2 separate regions of the Homo sapiens genome follow, and region 1 is linked to region 2. Evidence: promoter capture Hi-C in 16 types of primary human blood cells and fetal thymus (Javierre and others, 2016). All regions are on one chromosome and are shown on one strand. Each heading gives the region's core, a stretch centred on a gene start or on the middle of the fragment in contact. The rest is flanking DNA. Distances are from core to core; before and after follow the strand shown.

Region 1 (5,737 bases), core at 2,028-4,527, 91 kb before region 2:
CTAACAGTCAGGCCCCTCAACTGCAGGTCTGTTGGAGTTTGCTGGAGGTCCACTCCAGACCCTGTTTGCCTGGGTATCACCAGCGGAGGCTGCAAAACAGCAAATATTGCTGCCTGATCCTTCCTCTGGAAGCTTCGTCCCAGAGGGGCACCCACCTGTATGAGGTGTCTGTCGGCCCCTACTGGGAGGTGTTTCCCAGTCAGTCTACATGGGGGTCAGGGACCCAATTGAGGAGGCAGTCTGTCTGTTCTCAGAGCTTGAACGCCATGCTATGAGAACCACTGCTCTCTTCAGTGCTGTCAGACAGGGACATTTAAGTCTGCAGAAGTTGTCTGCTGCCTTTTGTTTAGCTAAGCCCTGCCCACAGAGGTTGAGTCTATAGAGGCAGTAGGCCTTGCTGAGCTGGGGTGGGCTCCACTCAGTTCAAGCTTACCAGCTGCTTTGTTTACCTACTCAAGCCTCAGCAATGGCGGACACCTGTATGCCCGCCAGGCTGCAGCCTCGCAGGTGGATCTCAGACTGCTGCGCTAGCAGTGAGCAAGGCTCCATGGGCGTGGGATCCACCAAGCCAGGCACAGGAGAGAATCTCCTGGTCTGCCGGTTGCTAAGATGGTGAGGAAAGTGCAGTATTTGGGCGGAAGTGTACCGTTTTTCCAAGGATAGTCTGTCATGGCTTCCCTTGGCTAGGAAAGGGAAATCCCCTGACCCCTTGTGCTTCCTGGGTGAGGTGACATACCGCCCTGCTTCGGCTCGCCCTCCATGGGCTGCACCCACTGTCCAACCAGTTCCAGTGGGATGAACCAGATACCTCAGTTGGAAATGCTGAAATCACCTGTCTTCTGCATCGATCTCGCTGGGAGCTGCAGACGAGCTGTTCCTATTCGGCCATCTGGGAGGACCAAGACCATGTTTAATTTTATAAGAAACTGCCAAACTGTTTTGCAAAGTAGCTGTACCGTTTTGTATTCTCACCAGAAGTGTATGAGAATTTCAGTTGTGCTGCATCTTCCTTACACTCTGTGTTGTCTGTTTATATGATTTTAAACATTTTTATGTGTGTGGTAGTATCTCATTTTGGTTTTCATTTTCATATCACTGGCCATGAATTTGAATATCTTTTAATATGCTTATTTGCCATTCATATGTCTTCTTTAATAAACTGTCTTTTGAAATCTTTGCCTGTTTTTAAAATAGCTTTTAATTATTGGTTGAGAGGGTTTTTATATGTCTTTATATATTTGGATATGAGTTCTTTATCAGATACGTGTTTTACAATAGTCTCTGAAATTCAATTTATCAAATCACAAAAAGAATACTTTTTGTGGTTTGTGCTTTTTTGTCTTAAGAGCTTTTTTAACACAGGGTCAAAAAGCTGTTTTCTTCTAGACAATTCATATTTTTGTAATTTTATAAGTTCATTTTTGCATATGGTGCAAAGTATTGATAAAGACATGATCATACAAAGTACAGATCAGTGTACATGACTTTACACTAATTTTATGCACTCTTTTGTAGTTTTATGAGTTTGTCTTTATATACTGCACAAAGTATAGATGAAAGTTAATTTTTTTGTGTATGAATGTCCAGCTATTCTAGCCCATTTGTTGAAAAGGCTATTCTTTATTGAAATGTCATGGCATTTTTGTCAACAGTTTTTTTTAACCATATATATGTAGGTCTATTTCTGTACTCTATTGTCTTCATGTTGTTTCTGTCCTTTTGCCAGCTCCATCCTGTCTTGCTTATTGTGGCTTTTATATTAAGTCTTGAAGTCAGGTTTAGTCTGTTTCTCAAAAAGAGCTCAGAATTATGGTATTCCCTGAGTTTTTATATGTTTCATATTTTTTCTGTAGTTTTCATACTTGTAAGCTTGGCTAGATGTAAAATTCTGGGCTCTTACTTTGTTCACTGGTATCTTGCTTTATATTTTACTGTTGAAAAATCAGATGGCAGCCGAATTTTCATACTGTTAGAAGTAATCTGGTCTTTTTGCTTTAAGGCCCTATGTGTTTAATCTTTGTCTTCATCTAATAGTTTTACCAGGTTATATCTCAGAGTTGATTATTCAGTAAAGTTTCTTACGTACACCATAAGCCCATTTTGATATGCAGAGTCAAATGTTGTTTAAGTATTTCTTTTCTTTTCTGGAAGGGTAGAATGGATCATTTCTGTTCTTAGTTTTTAAATTCCTGATTCAAGGTTTTTTGTGTTGTTTTTTTCCCCTACGTTGCCAAGTGCTTGTTAAGAATATGTAATTCACTTAAATATCCTCTGACTTTTGGTTAGTTGTGGGGGTGTGGATTTTCAGTAGCTGAAATGTTTTGATTCTGGTTTTCTGTTTTCTTCTTACATTAGCTTTGTAAAGTAGAATGCTTTTTGTGCTTACTTTTTGGACAGGATAAGGGTTTTAGGTGCTTTTTAGATTCCTACTTTTGTAGTATTCTCTTCTCTTAGGATACTGAAAAGGAGCTTCTAATGGATGACCTTTTTGTGGTGGAGAGGTATTGGTGTGTTTTGTAGGTCTCTTTGATTTTTACCAAACTCTTAACATCTCTCTCTTTAGCTTTCTCTCTCAAAGAATGTCTCCCCTCTTTTGTTTACATCTTTCTCTCCCAGGATGACATTCTTTGACAGCTGATATCTGCCACCAGTTTTATACCTCTCATCAATATTTTCTGCACTTAGTGTGGGTCTTTCTTTTTCTTAGGACTGTGTTTTGTTACCATAAGGCCTTTCACTCTCTTCTGTGATCTCTTCGTATTTTCTGCTCTCTGTCCGAGATTGTAACAATGTGAAATCCAGAGAGAGTGCTGATGGAGTTTGCAATCTGTCTTTCTACTTACAAGTAATTTGAAATTTATAATATTCTGTTTTCTAGTAATACTGAAGCCCTGTCACTGTTTTATTTCTCTTCTTGTGATTATGCATATGTTTTGGAGATTATTTGGGGAAATTTAGCTATAGGCTGCCGTCTTTATCCTATGGTAACCAAAAATTCCCAAAATTTAGATGTTTGTGTACTAAAAAATAAGGAATCCTGGGAGGTTGCATAACCTAATGCTGAGAATAAACCTATAAAGTTGGACTTTTTCGGTCCAGATCCTGGCTTCACCATTTACTAGCTATAAAATATTGAATAAGTTACTTAATTTTTCAATGTTTCAGTTTTCTTACTTGTATAATAGAAATTATATTTATAAGGATTATTTTGAAGGTTGTGTAAGGACTTAATAGATAACCTGGCATGGTAAGTACCCACTTATACTGTTATTATCATTCTCATCATTGTTTTTAATATTATCACCACCAACAATATCTGCATTCAAAAATTGCAGAATTTAAATTGTAATTGATCTTGGTTGAGGCTAGTGCTCAATAGTTGTAAATAATGAGATATAGAAAGTTGAAATGGAGGGGTGGAATAGTAAGTAGTAACCATTTTGTGTCACAAATATTTTTGAGAGTGTAATAAAAACTCTTCTCTGTCCTCTCCTCTGTGTACAAGAACTCTTCTTTTACATAGGATTTCAAAAGATTAATTAGGCAAACTTGAAGTTTAGTGATAAAATTAAGATTACTAATGTTTAAAGAATAAGAAGAGAAAGAAAACAGGGCTCGTGAAAAGATCTTTGTCACATATAAGAAATTGCTGAAATAATAGATCTAAAATTCAGTTTTCCAATATTTCCTTTAAAATGTTCTGTTTTGAGATACATAACTTTTAAGTGTAATTGAAAACATTATCTCTAAGTGTATTGTGTTATTATTAATTGCAGTTTTTATTTACAACTTTCAACACAAACTGATAGCTTATCATTTTTAAGATCATTTTATTTTCCTTTATCATAGTTCAGGGTTTTTTCATAGTAGTTTTCATTAACAAACTTTTTAAATTAAAAAAAATCTGTTTATTTGTAAATATGTCTGACTGGCATCACAGAACTGTTCTTTGACAAAAACTATAAATGGTAGATATTCGAGTTAATTATAAATGATGCCCTAGAGTGACATATAGAATCCAAAGACAAAAATGGGCAGATACTAGTAAAGGGAGACACTACTTAAGGTAACACGCAAATGGGTCTGTTATCATGAAATTGGGACATTTTTAGAGATATTTAGTAGGGGAACTGAATAGCTTTTTTAGAAGTTAAGTTCTAATTCTCACATTTAGTCATTGGAATTTTAAGTGTACTGTGTAAATGCTGTTAATGTTATTGTCTTTTATGGCTTTTGTTTTAGCCTGATGTAAATGCTGACATTGTGCATTGGCTCTCTTGGACTGCCCAAGGCTTTTTATCTCCACTTGCTGCAGCAGTAGGAGGTGTTGCCAGCCAAGAAGTATTGAAAGCTGTAACAGGAAAATTTTCTCCTTTGTGCCAGTGGGTTAGTTCTGAGTTTTTAAAGTTGAATTCTTTACTCGTGAAATGGAATGTGTTACATATTATAATGTAGTATTAATATATTAGAAAAGCGACCTTAAAATACTTTTTGATGCATGAAAGAGATGCAAGCAGTATGCCTCCAACACTTGATTCTATGATTGAAATTAACAGGATGATATTTTAGGGCTATTGAGATATAACCCAAAGTTGCCTTCTCAAATATATTTCCCTTAGTTGTGATAGTAAGGGAATGAATGTTCTATCCTTATAGGTAATTGTTCTCCAGTACCATAAGCTTAGCATTCTCGGGCTCTCAGGACTCTTGAATTTGTTCCATGGAATCTTTTACTATCATGAACGTTCAGGTTCCCTTTCTAGGTATAAACTTACAAAAGTGGAAAACATGGGAGTGGTACAGGTTTTAGAGTTACATGGGGTATGAACATCACAAGATGGAATAAAAATCCCCATTTCTTTTGCCAGCAGAAATAATTGGCACAAGGTGTGAAAGGATACTGCCTCCAGGCCCTCTCTCTGTTGAAACACCATAAACATTTTGAATATACCATTTATCTTTTTTTTTTAATTTTTTTTTTTTTTTGAGACAGAGTCTCACACTGTTACCCAGGCTGGAGTGCAATGGCGCGATGTTAGCTCACTGCAACCTCTGTCTGCCGGGTTCACGCGATTCTCCTGCCTCAGCCTCCCAAGTAGCTGGGGTTACAGATGCAGACCACCACACTTGGCTAACTTTTTGTGTTTTTAGTAGAGATGGGATTTCATTATGTTGGCCAGACTGGTCTCAAACTCCTGACTTCGTGATCCACCCGCCTCGGCCTCCCAAAGTGCTGGGATTACAGGCGTGAGCCACTGCGCCCGGCTCATTTTTTTATATTTTAAAAGGTACTCACATAATGCTATTTTTGCTGCTGAATTATTTATTTCAACACAGAATACAAGTACATTAGTAAAAATCTGGTTTAAAGATGACCGTTAAGGCAGGCGCAGTGGCTCATGCCTGTAATCCTAGCACTTTGAGCAGCCGAGGCGGGCAGATCACGAGGTCAGGAGATCAAGACCATCCTGGCTAACATGGTGAAACCCCTTCTGTACTAAAAATACAAAAAATTAGCCGGGCATGGTGGCACGCCCCTGTAGTCCCAGCTACTCGGGAGGCTGAGGCAGGAGAATCGCTTGAACCTGGGAGGCGGAGGTTGTAGTGAGCCGAGATTGTGCCACTGCACTCCAGCCTGGGCGACAGAGTGAGACTCTGTCTCAAAAAAAAAAAAAAAACACCATGAGAAATAATAGAAATTAATTGTTAATATAGATTCTGTGTTATAATAAAATAA
Region 2 (5,091 bases), core at 1,947-4,446:
TTTTTGTATTTTTAGTAGAGACGGGGTTTCGCCATGTTGAACAGGTTGGTCTCCATTTCCTGACCTCGTGATCCGCCCACCTGGGCCTCCCAGAGTGCTGGGATTACATGCATGAGCCACCGCTCCCGGCCCACCCACACTCTCTCTTATTTTCAAACGGTCCCAGAAAAAATGAGAAATTTTCCCATTTGTAAGAACTGCGATGCCAATGGTATTCCACTGTGGCATTTAACAGCTTTGATAATAAACACATCTTCCTGGTTAATTCAGAATCCTAGTGCTGTGGCTTAAATAAATCTTCCCACATTATCTTTTCCATAAAGATTATGTGTTTTTCATGGGTTCTTGACCTCAGATTTAGAAACCTTCTAGAATTGCATGCAAAATGGTATACGTTGTTACATTTTCCTGGGGAAAAGCTCTTTAAATACTTAAAAGTGCCCCACAAAAAATAGCTAAGAAGCACCTCTCAGCATTTCATGCCTTTATAGACCAGGTTACTCTTCAGTTATATTTTTTCTAGTTTAAATGTTCTGAATGACTTTGGCAGAGACCCAACTTTACATTCTGCAGAGCCTCTCACCTTCCTCTAGCCAATCAGCTCCAAAGATTACTTGGCTATATACCTTTGGCTCACCTTCTGTTCAAAGATTCCCTGGCACTTTGCTGCCAATTGCTTGGAAATTCCACTTATTTTGCTTAGATTTTTCTCATAGCTTCTATTTTCAAGTACTCTAATTATCACCATGCTCACTCTCCTTGGAGTCATATTACTTGCAGACCTCAAACTAATTTTAGTACCTGAATAAGAGTATGATAAGTGATGAAAGGGTAAGAGAATGAATCTAACCTTTAGTGTGAGCCAGGTGTTTTACATATGCTATCCCTTTAATCCCTGAAACCACCACATAAGTAGGTATTATTGTCATCCTCTTGCTCTCTTCTCCCTGACATACAAGTAAAAGGTACTTAGTGGTCTAACTCAGAGGCCCATGCCTGTAATTCTAGCACATTGGGAGGCCAAGGTGGGCAGGTTGCTTGAGCCCAGGAGTTTGAGACCAACCTGAACAACGTGATGAAACCCTGTCTCTATAAACAATACAAACGTTAGCCGGGTGTGGTATGCGCTTGTAGTCCCAGCTACTCAGGAGGCTGAGGCAGGAGAATCACCGGAGCCGGGGATGTCAAGGCTGCATGACTAGTGATTGCACCATTGCACTCCAGCTTGGGCAACAGAGGAGACACTGTCACACACACACACACACACACAGACACACACCCACACACACAAAGATACTTTACTATAAATTCAAATAGAAACACAAGTTAATTTCATTGGAAATATTTATGCCTATAGGTATTCATTCTGCTTCAAAGAATGCTTTCTAAGAGAAGGTAAAGAGTAGAAATTTGGTAAGGAAGACATCATTCCTACTATATTAAGCCTCTTGAAAATAAAATCTTTGTGTTTTTTTCCATATTCTCCAGAAATGAGTGATGCTTGGTGCATAGGAGGCACACAATAAATGTTGAGTGAATAAATTGATTGAACACCTACTGAATCCTAGAATGTACCTTAGGAGGCAAGTAGCAAGTAGTATACTCTCTATCTTATAGTTGAAACAGTCTCAAGGAGATTGAGTAACTTGCACAAGATCACAAGCTATAAGTGGCAAAACCATCAGATAAAGGACACTCTAAAATTCTTATTCTTTCTGCTAACCATACCAATGACATGTCTTCTTTAAGCATTTAAAAAAAACTGCTATCATAAACAGTTATTATAAATACCTTGGAAAACATTCAATGAACAACCTGATTTAAATTACTAATTAGAATTTTTTTTTCTCAACTTCCCTTTCCTGGCAAAGTGTGACTATGTGGCTTACCTGTGGTGACAAGATTGAATTTACATTAAAAGCATATAGGATCAATCTAAAAAATTCTAATATAACTGAAAGGTAATTATTTATGCATGTTTAACATCCATAACAGAATACAAATTACCATGTCTTTACTCTCAAATAGTAAATGATCTGATTATATATGTAAGAAATGTGAATATGCTATTATAGATTTTTCATATATATAATTTTTCCACAAGTATTCATAAATCCTCAGAAAATATATTTTAGCATCATTAAACATTTCTGATGGAATTTCTGAAAACCTTAAAATTTTTCTAGTTTTAGTCAGTATACAATTTCATAAAATTTGACCTAACTTAATGATTTTTTTATTTAATAACAGGCAATTTTGGGCTTATTTCTCTAATTAATTTCAAGTCATCCATAATTACTGTTTTAAAAGTAATGATTTTAACTAACTATAAGTTTTAATTATTACATTTAAAAATACAGAATGCTTCATGGATTTTCTTAGAGCAAAGGTATTTATGTAGCTTAGTGTACTTAATACCCACAGTAGTACCCCAAAAATTAAAAGTCACTATCTTGAATAGTATTTTAGAACACATAACTATATATAATGTTAAACAGTATGAACTTTGTCATTTTAACAATTTTTACAAAAGCCATTTTTAATAATTTGATCATTATAAACTTCAAATGACTCAGAACAGGAGCAGGTTTAATTTTAATCATGATATCATTTTATCTTAATGGTACATGTCATCATTGAAGCATAGCAATAAATTGTGGAGAAAATACAAGAAACATTTTATCTCCCAAGCCAAAATCTTTTGTGATATTTAAATAAATTCTTTGGAAATTTAGCTTATTGACTTTTTTATATTAGTGCCTTAATATTACAACCTCTGTTATTATACATATTATATATGTGTATACATACAGGTTTAAGCCAGACATTGTATTTAAATTATGAAAAATTGGAATCATTTTTCTGAGCTCAAAGAAGAGAAGATGATTTAATTTCAACAGAAACAAGGAGGTCTTAACACATCACATCACCATGAAATAAATATTAAATTAAAACAGAAGTCTTAGGTTTAACATTATCATCTATAGACTCACCCGGTATCCTGACCGCTTGATTAATAAAAAACCTTCAAAGTACAAAGGTAGAGCAGTAATCTTTAACCTTTCCTGGAAGATCCTGCGAGGGGCTGGTTTTGGGGGCTTCTTAGCCATCATACCCCTCTCTTTGGTGTGTGGTTTGGTTTCTCGTCTCAAACAAAATGAAATCTTCCTTCTGTGAGAGGAAAAGGCAACTGTTCAAAGAGGAAGTCCCAAATTGCTTTTTAACCACCAACACTACCACCAACAGGACACACACACACACAGACGCACACACACACACACACACTTTTTTTTCCATTACTTTTTGTGAGGTAAGAAAGAACAGGTGTAGACTGACTTTCAGAGGGCAATCTCTGGGTAATCCACATGTGCTTAGATTTAAAGCGCAAAATAAACAGAAGATTAACATCACCAGAAGATGAAAGAAACAGGTGTAGAGATTGTGAACTTTAGGGGAGATATCAAGAACACAGTTATTCTTTCTATCTTTGTTTTTGTTTATTGGTGTCCATTTTTATTTGCAGAAGACATGACTTGAATAAACTCAGCTTCATTAAAAATTACTTCATAGAATAATTTTATTAGTACTACTTCTGTTGGTTAAATATTTTAGGGTCAAGTTTTGTGTAAATAAAAAAAATAGTTGTATCTCATGCTCATTTGATGCTTCACTAAATATAAACCACAATTATGGGAACACGGAATATGGAATTTTTTTCTTTTTTCTTTCTTTCTTTTTTTTTTTTTTTTGCCAGTAGATATTCCAAGTACATGAGTTCCCAATGAATATTTAGTGCTATGTTTTGAATGTGTCCTCCAAAACTTATGTGTTAGAAACTTAATCCCCAATGCAACAGTGTTTAGAAATGGGACTTTTAGAAGGTGATTAAGTCATGAGGCCTCTGCCCTCATGAATGAATGAATTAATTAATGCTGTGGGAGTGGGTTTCTTTCTCTTTTTTCAGAGGCAGGGTCTTGCTCTGTTGCCCAGGCTGGAATACACTGGTGCAATCACAGCTCACTGCAGCCTTGACCTCTCAGGCTCAAACAATCCTCACACATCAGCCTCCTAAGTAGCTGGGACTACAAGGCACGCGCCACCACTCCTAGCTAACTTTTTCATTTTTTGTATAGACAGTATCTCCCTATGTTGCCCAGGTTGGTCTCAAACTCTTGGGCTCAAGCGATTCTCCTGCTGTGGCCTCCCAAAGTGCTGGGATTACATGTGTGAGCCATTGCACCTGGCCTGGAAGTGGGTTTTTTATAAAATCAAGTTTGGCACTTTCTCACATGCTATCATCCTCTCTTGCTCTTCTATCTTCTGCCATGGAATGATGCTGCATGAAGGTCCTCATCAGATGCTGGCCATGTTCTTTGACTTCCAGACTCCAGAACCATGAGCGAAATACATTTCTGTTCATTATAAATTACCAGTCTGTGGCATTCTGTTACAGCAACACAAAGGAGTCTAAGATATTTGGCAAAAAAATATCTGGCAGAGAAAGCTGTAAGTTTTCAAACTTTTATTTTGTTCTTTTGTGCTTTCTGAGCTGCAGACCATTGATACTATGATTCATGGATGGACTTCCCACAGTTATCTAGTGAGATTTATAAAGCTATACTGGGGCCAAAGTGCACTCAATGGTTGCATGTAGGAAATGGTCCTTAAGAGATTGGATTTGGCGTAGCACAGTGCAGGAAATGATGGGAGAAAAGAATACTAGAAGGAATTTTGATTTGTCTTACAGGGGTCCTAAGAATTTCTACCATTGCCTATTTCACACTCAGTATTTCAGAACTACTCTAGATTTAGAACAGCCTGGGCCCAGTGAGACCAGCCTATTATTAGAAATCAAAGCAAGTCAGGAGTCTTCAGTCTGATTCTCCTTTCCTAATGGAGAGACTGCATGGTTTTCTCCACCAGTATGGGTCCCACTGATCCTGCAGCTGTAGATATGGGATGACAAATTGTCTACAAAGTGAGGTAGAACAATACGGACTGATTATCAGTAAGTTAGAGAAGAGTGTTCAGATGTATTATCAAAATGAAAACAGCTCAAGACAGAAATAGGGAGTTGAAGATCCAAAATGA

Evidence for each region. The method cuts DNA at HindIII sites, captures the fragments that hold promoters and counts their contacts. A CHiCAGO score of 5 or more calls a contact.
Region 1: a fragment that was not itself captured here is called in contact with the fragment with the promoter of STAP1 in region 2 in 13 of 17 cell types (total B cells, naive B cells, activated CD4 T cells and 10 more); the score reaches 13.6 in total B cells.

Annotation. Positions count from the first base shown.
Region 1 is chr4:67,647,717-67,653,453 of GRCh38, reverse strand. UBA6 (ubiquitin like modifier activating enzyme 6) reads left to right here. Exons shown (of 33, transcript NM_018227.6): 14 at 4,243-4,386. Among named protein-coding and RNA genes, the nearest start is that of UBA6, 51 kb to the left of the region's middle. The HindIII fragment of the contact is 2,811 bases long and covers 1,872-4,682 here.
Region 2 is chr4:67,556,832-67,561,922 of GRCh38, reverse strand. STAP1 (signal transducing adaptor family member 1) reads right to left here and starts at 3,196. Exons shown (of 9, transcript NM_012108.4): 1 at 2,994-3,196. The coding sequence starts at 3,113. The HindIII fragment of the contact is 12,125 bases long and covers 1-5,091 here.